Regions from separate parts of the Homo sapiens genome. Here all the other regions are linked to region 2. Evidence: promoter capture Hi-C in human tissues and cell types (Jung and others, 2019). All regions are on one chromosome and are shown on one strand. The core of a region is centred on a gene start or on the middle of the fragment in contact, and the rest is flanking DNA. Distances in the headings are between cores, read along the strand shown. Region 1 has its middle 330 kb from the start of LINC01029. Region 2 holds the start of MBP (myelin basic protein). Region 3 has its middle 350 kb from the start of LINC01029.

Region 1 (2,700 bases), core at 64-2,563, 530 kb after region 2:
TTCTTAAGCACCAAACGCTTGGCGTCTGAGCGTTGGTTTTCATGGTGTTCAACACAGGGTTTGCTAGAGCATGCACCAGCTTTGTGAAGGGCAAGCTTGCTTGCTCCTGGGAAAGGGGCTGGAGGAAAAGTCTCCAACACATCCCACTGAGTAGAGAAAGGGACACATAAAGATACAAGGAGTACCAGAATTTTTGGAGACAGAACTATCAAAGCTGCTACTGAACCAATGACAAAATGGAGAAAACAGATGATACCAAAGAGCGTAGTTTGAATTTCAGAACCATAATATGTGGTCACAAAGTGGTAACCTTGTAGTCATGAGGGTATTATCTACTGTCATTTGCATGATAGAGAAAACGCCCATAGATGAGGAAAGAATAAAAACTCAAAAGCTTAACTTTCCTAAGCAAGAGAAGAAAACCAGTTAATATTAAACAGGAAGTAAGGTTAGCACTTGAAAAAAAACATTGCGAGCACAATGCTGCATTTCACACAAGAAAAAGATGGCTCAGTTACAAGATAAACTAAAGATGCGGCCTTTCTCTATGTCTGCAGAACACAGGTAGTAAAATGAACCTGCAGGTGCACCGTTATTCGCCGGGTGTTCTGCAATTGTCATGGAGGTGCCACGGAGGGGAAGTCAGGACAGTGGAAGGGGGTGTACTACGAGAGATCCAGCTTACGAGGGCAGAATTTCTGTAGGAAATATGCTATGCATTTGAATGGGGCTGAAGCCTCCTGTGGAAGTGCAACTAGCAACTAACAAGCATCTCAGAGCAAATGAAGTGGAGGGAAACTTAAATTGTGGCGTTGCTGAGTTTTGGCTGCGTAGATGAGACAGAAATTGCACCATCATTGTTGTTTCGTCTATCTTATTTTCTAGGCTTGGAGCTCCTTGGGGAAAGAAGTTGCTCTATTGGATTTGGTGTTTTCTCCATGTAACACAGCTCCAGGCAGACACCAGGTGCTTTAATGAATCTTTCGTGCTTTCTGGGCCATTTTTCAACTGTCTGAATGTTCCCAATTGCATCACTTTGAAGAGCTTGGTAATTTAGCTAAAATTGCAGCTCTGTCCTGAGAAAGCATCAGATAGCAAACATATCTCCATAGAGAAGGATTATAACCAGTCCCAAGGTATGTTAGTGAGGAAGCAATTAAGTGCGTGGACCAAAAAAAAAAAAAAAATTAGTGAAAGTATAATGTAAACATGAAGGGCAGTGCCAGCAGAGCAAGACTCCCAGGTCTGAAGTTTGCACCTCTGTGCTGTGAGCAGGACCCAGAACGGCTGCCGTCATGAGGAGATGGTTCAGAGGTCACCCTCCGAGCTGCTCATGTAAGGGTGGGTCCTCCAGGTAGCCTCATTTCCCTGCTATACCTGCTGTAGGAGCCATGGTATCAGAGGGGAGTTTATCAATGAAAAAGTCATACAAATAAATTTTAGAAACAACAACAATGAAGACCAAAGTTCTCCATCCATCATTTTCCGGTGTGATCCACGATTCCTGGTTTTTACAGAGTTCAGCAGAATCTCGCTATTAGCCCTGCAGCCTGGCTGTGAGGAAGCTGTTCCATGCCGTCACCAGCATCAGGTCCAATGCACATCTCTCTTTCTCGCTGGGTGCAGAGGATCCAGTGGAGAATGCTGGGGCTACCTCGTGCACGATGGAGTCACTGAGGAAAGGAGCCTGGGGCCCTGAATGACTGGGTGGAGTCCTCTTTTGCCCCTCGCCATCAGCTCTGTTGGACTGGATAAAAGTTAGAAATGGAAACTGTGTTGGATTTAGCCACTGAGATTTGGGAAATTATTTTTTATAGTAGAGTGCCTATGCTAATGAATATAGAAACAATTCTAACTACTCTCCAAATATTTTCATCATGATACATAGTCCTCCCAATAGGCCAAAATGATTGATTGCCTCCCACTGTTGCCATTGCTGTCCGTTAGTCATCTTTTTAAAAAGTTTGCCACCATTGTCAAACAATGAATCTCAATTATTTAATGTGGACCTAGTTAAGAATCATATTGTGCGCCATTTCATGTGTTTATCAGCTTTTCTTCTGTGAATTGTCCCCCTCCCCTCCCCTCCCCTCCCCTCTCCTCTTCTTCTCTTCTCCTTTTTTGTGAGACAGAGTCTCACTCTGCTGCCCAGGCTGGAGTGCAGTGGGGTGATCTCGGCTCACTGCAGCCTCTGCCTCCCGGGTGCAAGCAGTTCTCCTGCCTCAGCCTCCTGAGTAGCTAGGGACTATAGGTGTGTCCCAACACATCCAGCTATTTGTATGTGTATGTGTGTGTATGTGTGTGTTTGTGTGTGTGTGTATTTTTAGTAGAGAGGGGGTTTTGCCATGTTGACCAGGCTGGGCTTGAACTCCTAGCCTCAAGTGATCTACCTGCCTTGGCCTCCCAAAATGCTGGGATTACAAGCGTGAGCCACTGCGCCTGGCCCTGTGTGCATTTTCAAGGTGTAGGCTGCTTGGGACCTGCTGAGCTGGGAGGGAGCCACTGTTTGGGGTTTCCTGCACCCTGATTCTGATTTCTCTCTGTCAATAACTTGTTCTTGCAGATGCTGGGCTTGGATCAAGAACCAGGAAAACTGCTTTTTAAGCAGAAGTTAAGCGATGGCCAGTATTGGCTCCCCCAGAGTTGTCATGAAATCCTAAGAATACAGAGATGGGGACTTGCTCTATCCTGGCAGGACCC
Region 2 (2,700 bases), core at 140-2,639:
CTCTTTCCAGGCGGGGCGTTCTGTGGTCAGACGAGGCAGAGGCCTCCCCGGAACGAAGTCCACGCCCCCTCCCCACCCCAGCACCCAGCGAGCCCACGCGCCCCTCACCCACGCGCAGAGAAACCGAGCACTTGTTGATTCTCACGTTGTTGCAATTGGAAAACGGAACAAGGAACCAGAGCTCGCCTGTTTCCAGCCAGAGTCGCACGGGGGTCCCCAAAGACGCTTGAACCTTTTCCCAAGCCCCACTCCACCTTCCAAAACGGGGGGGCTCAGGTGGACGCGAAAGGACACAAGGCGCTGCCCCCAGCACCCCGGAAAATCTAGTGTGGCGGCAAATGACCGCAGGTCACACACCCCGGCCTCGGGGGCCACGGAAAACGGACGCACCCGGCCCAGGACAGGCAGTGGGGCCCAGGAGGGGACTGCCGGGAAGACCCGGGCGGGCCGGCGGGCGGCTGCGGGCGGCGCACGTGGGCCCAGGTGGGCGCAGCGACGGGCCCGGCCGAAGAGCCCGAGACAGGCCCTGCGAAGGCGGAAGCCCGGACCCGGGCTCTCCTGGCCGCCCCTGGAGCTCAGAGGGAGACTGCGCTTCGCCCCGGGGGCAGGGGCAGGAGCGCGATCGCGCGCGGGGCCCCCGGGGTGTGATTAGCAGGCGCCGCGAGCCGGGAGGACCCCCCAGCCCGCCCTGGCAGCCAGCACCCTCTCCACACCCGCCCAGAGTGGCCGCTTTTGACCGCCGTCCCCTCCCACCCTAGACTCCTCCCCTCAGCCCCACGGCCCGAGGCCGAGCGGTTTCAGCGACCCTGGGACCGCCGGGCCTGGCTGGAGTCCACCCCTGGACACCTGTCAGGGTCGGGCCCCGGCGCTGTAAACCCGCGTCTACACCCGCGCCCAGCCCCCGCGCAATGGGGATCGGGGGCGGCGACTTGGGTTCGGGTCAGGGAGGCCGCCGGCTGCTACCTGCTCGGCCACCTGCTCCGCTGCCTAGGTTCTCCCTGCGCGTCCCCAGCCAAGAAAGGGACCCGGAGTCCGGGCGTCGGGATAGCTCCTGTCCCCGATCTTGCGCCCCCGGCTCCCGCGGGGCTCCGGTCCGGGGTCCCGCCCAGGTCTCCGCGGTCCCCACTCGGAGGGGCACAGAGACAAAGGCGGCAGAGCAGCCCGCCCGTCCCCGAGGGTCACCCACCGGCGCTGCGCTCGTTGCTCCGAGGCCGAGGGGCGCCGCGGGGTCCAAGGCCCTGCTCCGCCTGCCCAGGCCCGGGCAGGCTGGTCTCGGCTTCAAGCGCCCACGCGCGGGGTCCCCGGGCAGCCTGCTTCGCCTTCCGGGGTCGGGAGACAGGGGCCGCCGGGGCCGGAGGCTGCTTCTCTCTGGCGCGCGGCGGCGGTGACTGACGGCGGCGGCTCCGAGGGACGGGCGCGCACCCAGCTCCCCGGCCCCGCCTCCCCGGGCTTCCTGCGAGCCAGGTAAACACAGGCCGATCCCGCCGGGCCCGCCCCACCTGGACGCGGCCGCCGGCGCCGCCCCGGGAGCTCGGAGGACCCCGGGCCCGCTCTGCCCACGCGGAACTTGGGGGGCGCACGGGGCCCACGCGCAGGGTCAGACCTCGGAGGGGCGGCCTGGAGCCTCGCCCGCTGCCGAACTGGGCTCCGAACTGCGGCCCGTCGACCCTTCCCGTTCGGAGGCTTGGCCTCCGAACCCACCCCGACCCCGACCTCGACCTCGCGGGAGGGGTGCCAGGCCGCATCTCCCCGCGTCCTCAGGGGCTGGAAACCCCAGAAACTGCCGATAGACTTGGCGCAGCCCCGGCCCTGCAGGAGGAGAGTCAGCCCGGCCTGGAGGCGAAAGGAGCCGGCAGGTCCTCCCAAGGCACTCCCTCCCTCCCCTGGAGCCCAGGCCAGGCCCATGTCCGGCTGGCAGGTGCTCCTCTGGGAGCTGGGAGCTGGGAGCTGGGAGCTAGGGGCGCACCTTCTCCTGCAGGACCGGCGCAGGAAGCGTGCGCGGAAAAGACAGCAAAACACGCGCAGGTGCGAGGAAGCAGCCTGGTCCTGCAGCCCAGAGACATCGTGGTCTTCGTCGCTGTCTTGTTAAAAAGAAAAAGCCTGCTGTTTAGCCGTGACTCACCTGCACACAGATTTAGTGGTCAGAGATCTTTCTCTGGATTCTCAGCCTCCTGATGGTGGAAGAGGAGGAGGTTGGGGGAGTCCCAGAATGAGGCCCCGCGTTCCTCCTGACCTACACCCCCAGTCAGGGATCTGGATCTGGAGCTTCCAGGGGACCTGGAGCAGCCTGGGACCCACACAGTTTGTTAGGAAGTGAGGGAGAGGGGTGAGCGCTGTCCCGGCCCGCGCTGGGAGGCGGGACTCAGACTTCAGCACGGGGTCGGGGTTTCGGCCTAAAACCAGCCTCCCCCAAAGCCCCGGAGGATTTAGCAACTGTCTTCAAATGCTGGCAACTGGAAGAGAAATACTTCCACAACGACGCAAAAGCATTCAGTCTGGTCGTTTCCTCAGGAGAGATTTTCAAGTGGAGGGGGCAGGAGGGTTCTGAGACTTTGAGGCTGAAGGTGAGGAGGGAAAAGGGTGCCAAAGATAGTGTGTTTCTCCAATTTTTCTGCCCCACAACCTCACTTTAAGTCAAGGATGAGCGGAGTGGGCGTGGGAGGCTGGACAGCTGCCCTAGGAGCACGGGTGGTGACAATG
Region 3 (2,700 bases), core at 34-2,533, 510 kb after region 2:
CCAGACACTCCCTGTGATGGCCGGAAGGTTGGACCTGGGTCAGAGCTTTACTTGGGATTCTGCTTTACTCTCATGCTAGGCTCATCCTACTGCTATAGCCTTGACCTGTCATTCAGGTAATATTTTGGACTCACGGAACTTCATTTTGTCTCATCTCTCAATTTGTTCACAGTCATCTGCTGGAAACTTCCTGCAACAACCTTGTGTAAGATTACCCACGGCTCAATTTCTAACAGTGGCATTTTGGGTACAAACGTCAGCTTAAACCTACATTTTAAATTATTACATTGTTCAAAAGAAATACCTGTGTTTCGTCTTCTAGATAAATGCATCAAGTCATCATCTATTCTCAGAAAGTTTTAGAAGAGAATTCTTAAAATAAAGCTCTATAGCATTTTATTAGAACATTGTATTATCAGTGAGAATTTTATTTCCATGTCAAATAGAATCTTTGTTGATTTTATTTGACATGGAAATAAAATTCTCACTGGTATTTTGTTCTTTTATTATATATTATGTTCACATCTATGTTATTTTATTATATATTATGGTCACTGTGAGAATTCAAGGAAAATTCAAGAATATTTCCACTGAAAAAAAGCTTATAATTGATTCTGGGAAGCAAGCTATAAATACCTGATGAGTGAAATATCAAAACACCTCAACATCTGTTTTTAAGCTTATTGGTGAGTGAATTCCTTTAAAATTAATTGCCTTAGTAGCTCATAAGAGTAGCTCTGAAAGGCTTTCTGAAGGAAAGAGCATTTGAACTATGTTTTGCAGAGCAGGATTTAAAGAGACAAAGAGAAGGCAGGAAGCATCCCAGGCAGATGACAAGGCCTGAGTACATGGGTGGAGGTGAGAAAGGCCAAGACCCGTGGATGGGGCAGAAAGTGAATCCCACTGGAATCGTGCCACATAGCCGGGTCTAGTCAGGGGCAGAAGGTGGGCTCTTGCTTGCTTAGATAAAGAATAAGAAGGAAGTATAAAAATTTGGAAAAAAGCATTGCCCCAAACTCAAAACAATAACTTTCTGGGCTGGATCTGACATTGGTTAGTGATGTAGCTAAACAATGGCAGATATGAAATCTTAGCCTCAATCTTTTCACCTGCTAGCATGTGTGATAACACTCATCTTCCCCACCCCATAGTGTCTGTGGCCAAAACACGAGACAATGCCTGTCAAAGGGGCTTTAAAGGCAAAAGAGTACCAGAAAATGTAAATTCATTATTTAGGAACTGAGACGTTAATAATATTTAATTGAGGACATTTCATGTCCAAACCAGTGCTGGATAAATAGGAGTGGATTTTTTCGGAAGGGCGGAAAGGCATTAGGAGGCTATTCCAATATTCAGTAATGCCTAACAGGATACAAGCCTCTTTTTCAGCCTGACGGTGCATGCTCACAAGTGCTAGATGTGTTATTGCAAGAATCAAAGGCAGGGAAATGAAGTTATGTGGGTGAAATATTAGCACGGGAAATGTGTGAACACAGTTTGGAAGGCTGATGATTACGTACTGATGCATTTTGGCACGTGTACAAAATGAAAGGGAACATTAACATCATCCTGAAAACTTGCTGCTATTCCACTAAATAACACATCTTTTATTGGGAGGAGAATTTGAAATAACTTTCCAAATGTAGAGATTTCAAAAATACTTTTCTAGAAATTTCCTTTTATGGAATTCAAAGATGGGTGGGCATATATATTTATTTCTTTTGGGGGGCTTCAGTAGCACAGAATCCATCATACTCATCAATCCTTAATTCATGACTGTCATCATTGTCCTTGCAAATATCCAAACTTGTTTTATTATTTGATTTTTCAGTCCAAAATTTGTTTACTTCCTTGTATTTTCTATTTCTTTCTTGAGGATTTCAATTTCTTTGCTGAGGCTTTGTGTTTTTTCATTTGTTTCAATTATGTTTGCCATTGCCCTTGAAGTATCTTTACTGTGGCTGCTTTAAGTCCCTGTGAGGTCACTCTATGATAGCACCTCTATGCTGGATGTTGGCATCTATGGCTTGCCTTGTTTCATCCACTTTGTGATCTTGCTGCTTCTTGGCATGACAGGGATTTTCTATTGAAAGAGGTGCACATTTCGTACTATGTCAGAAGACTCTGGGTCTTACTTATCTCACTGGAACCTTCTGTTGCAGCTGGTTCCTTTGATACTGCTCTGGCTTAGAAGTGACTGATGGCTTGTTACTGCCAGGTGGGGGTGAGAGTCTGGGGCCCCATCTGGCTTGTGTGGATGGGGAAGGGCAGCAGTGTTTTGCATGTGTTGTGGCTGGAGTCGAGTGGGTACTGTCTAAGTTTTCTGTCTGGGTAGGCTGCTCCTTTCTTCTGCCAGGGCTTTCTTTGTGCCTGTTAGCATTTCTATATTGCTGGAGTCCTCTGCCCTGAGGTGAGTCCAAGAACTCACCTCTGTGCCATTCTTGCATCCTGAGGCCCCAGCCAGTCTGCCTTCTGAGCTGTCTAATGCTTGTTCTACTCATAATGTTCAAGATTATTCATTATGCTCAGTGGGAGGAAGAGGGAAAAGGATGCATATCCCATCTCCCCAGAAGGGAAATCCCACTCATTAAAAATAATTCCTTTGTACATTGTATATTTCTACTTTACTTTGAGAATCAGAGTTCCTAAGAGTATTATGGCTGAAGGACCAGGAGTGTCCCAGGTGAGCCTCAGTCCAGT

Evidence for each region. The method cuts DNA at HindIII sites, captures the fragments that hold promoters and counts their contacts. A contact is called where the count stands out against the background at its distance.
Region 1: a fragment that was not itself captured here is called in contact with the fragment with the promoter of MBP in region 2 in 1 of the 25 tissues and cell types used here (dorsolateral prefrontal cortex).
Region 3: a fragment that was not itself captured here is called in contact with the fragment with the promoter of MBP in region 2 in 2 of the 25 tissues and cell types used here (dorsolateral prefrontal cortex and spleen).

Annotation. Positions count from the first base shown.
Region 1 is chr18:77,664,928-77,667,627 of GRCh38, forward strand. No RefSeq gene overlaps it. Among named protein-coding and RNA genes, the nearest start is that of LINC01029, 330 kb to the right of the region's middle. The HindIII fragment of the contact is 5,019 bases long and covers 1-2,700 here.
Region 2 is chr18:77,131,394-77,134,093 of GRCh38, forward strand. It overlaps MBP (myelin basic protein), which reads right to left and starts at 1,390. Exons shown (of 9, transcript NM_001025101.2): 1 at 1,187-1,390. RefSeq lists a silencer at 355-1,654. The HindIII fragment of the contact is 18,599 bases long and covers 1-2,700 here.
Region 3 is chr18:77,644,236-77,646,935 of GRCh38, forward strand. No RefSeq gene overlaps it. Among named protein-coding and RNA genes, the nearest start is that of LINC01029, 350 kb to the right of the region's middle. The HindIII fragment of the contact is 6,200 bases long and covers 1-2,700 here.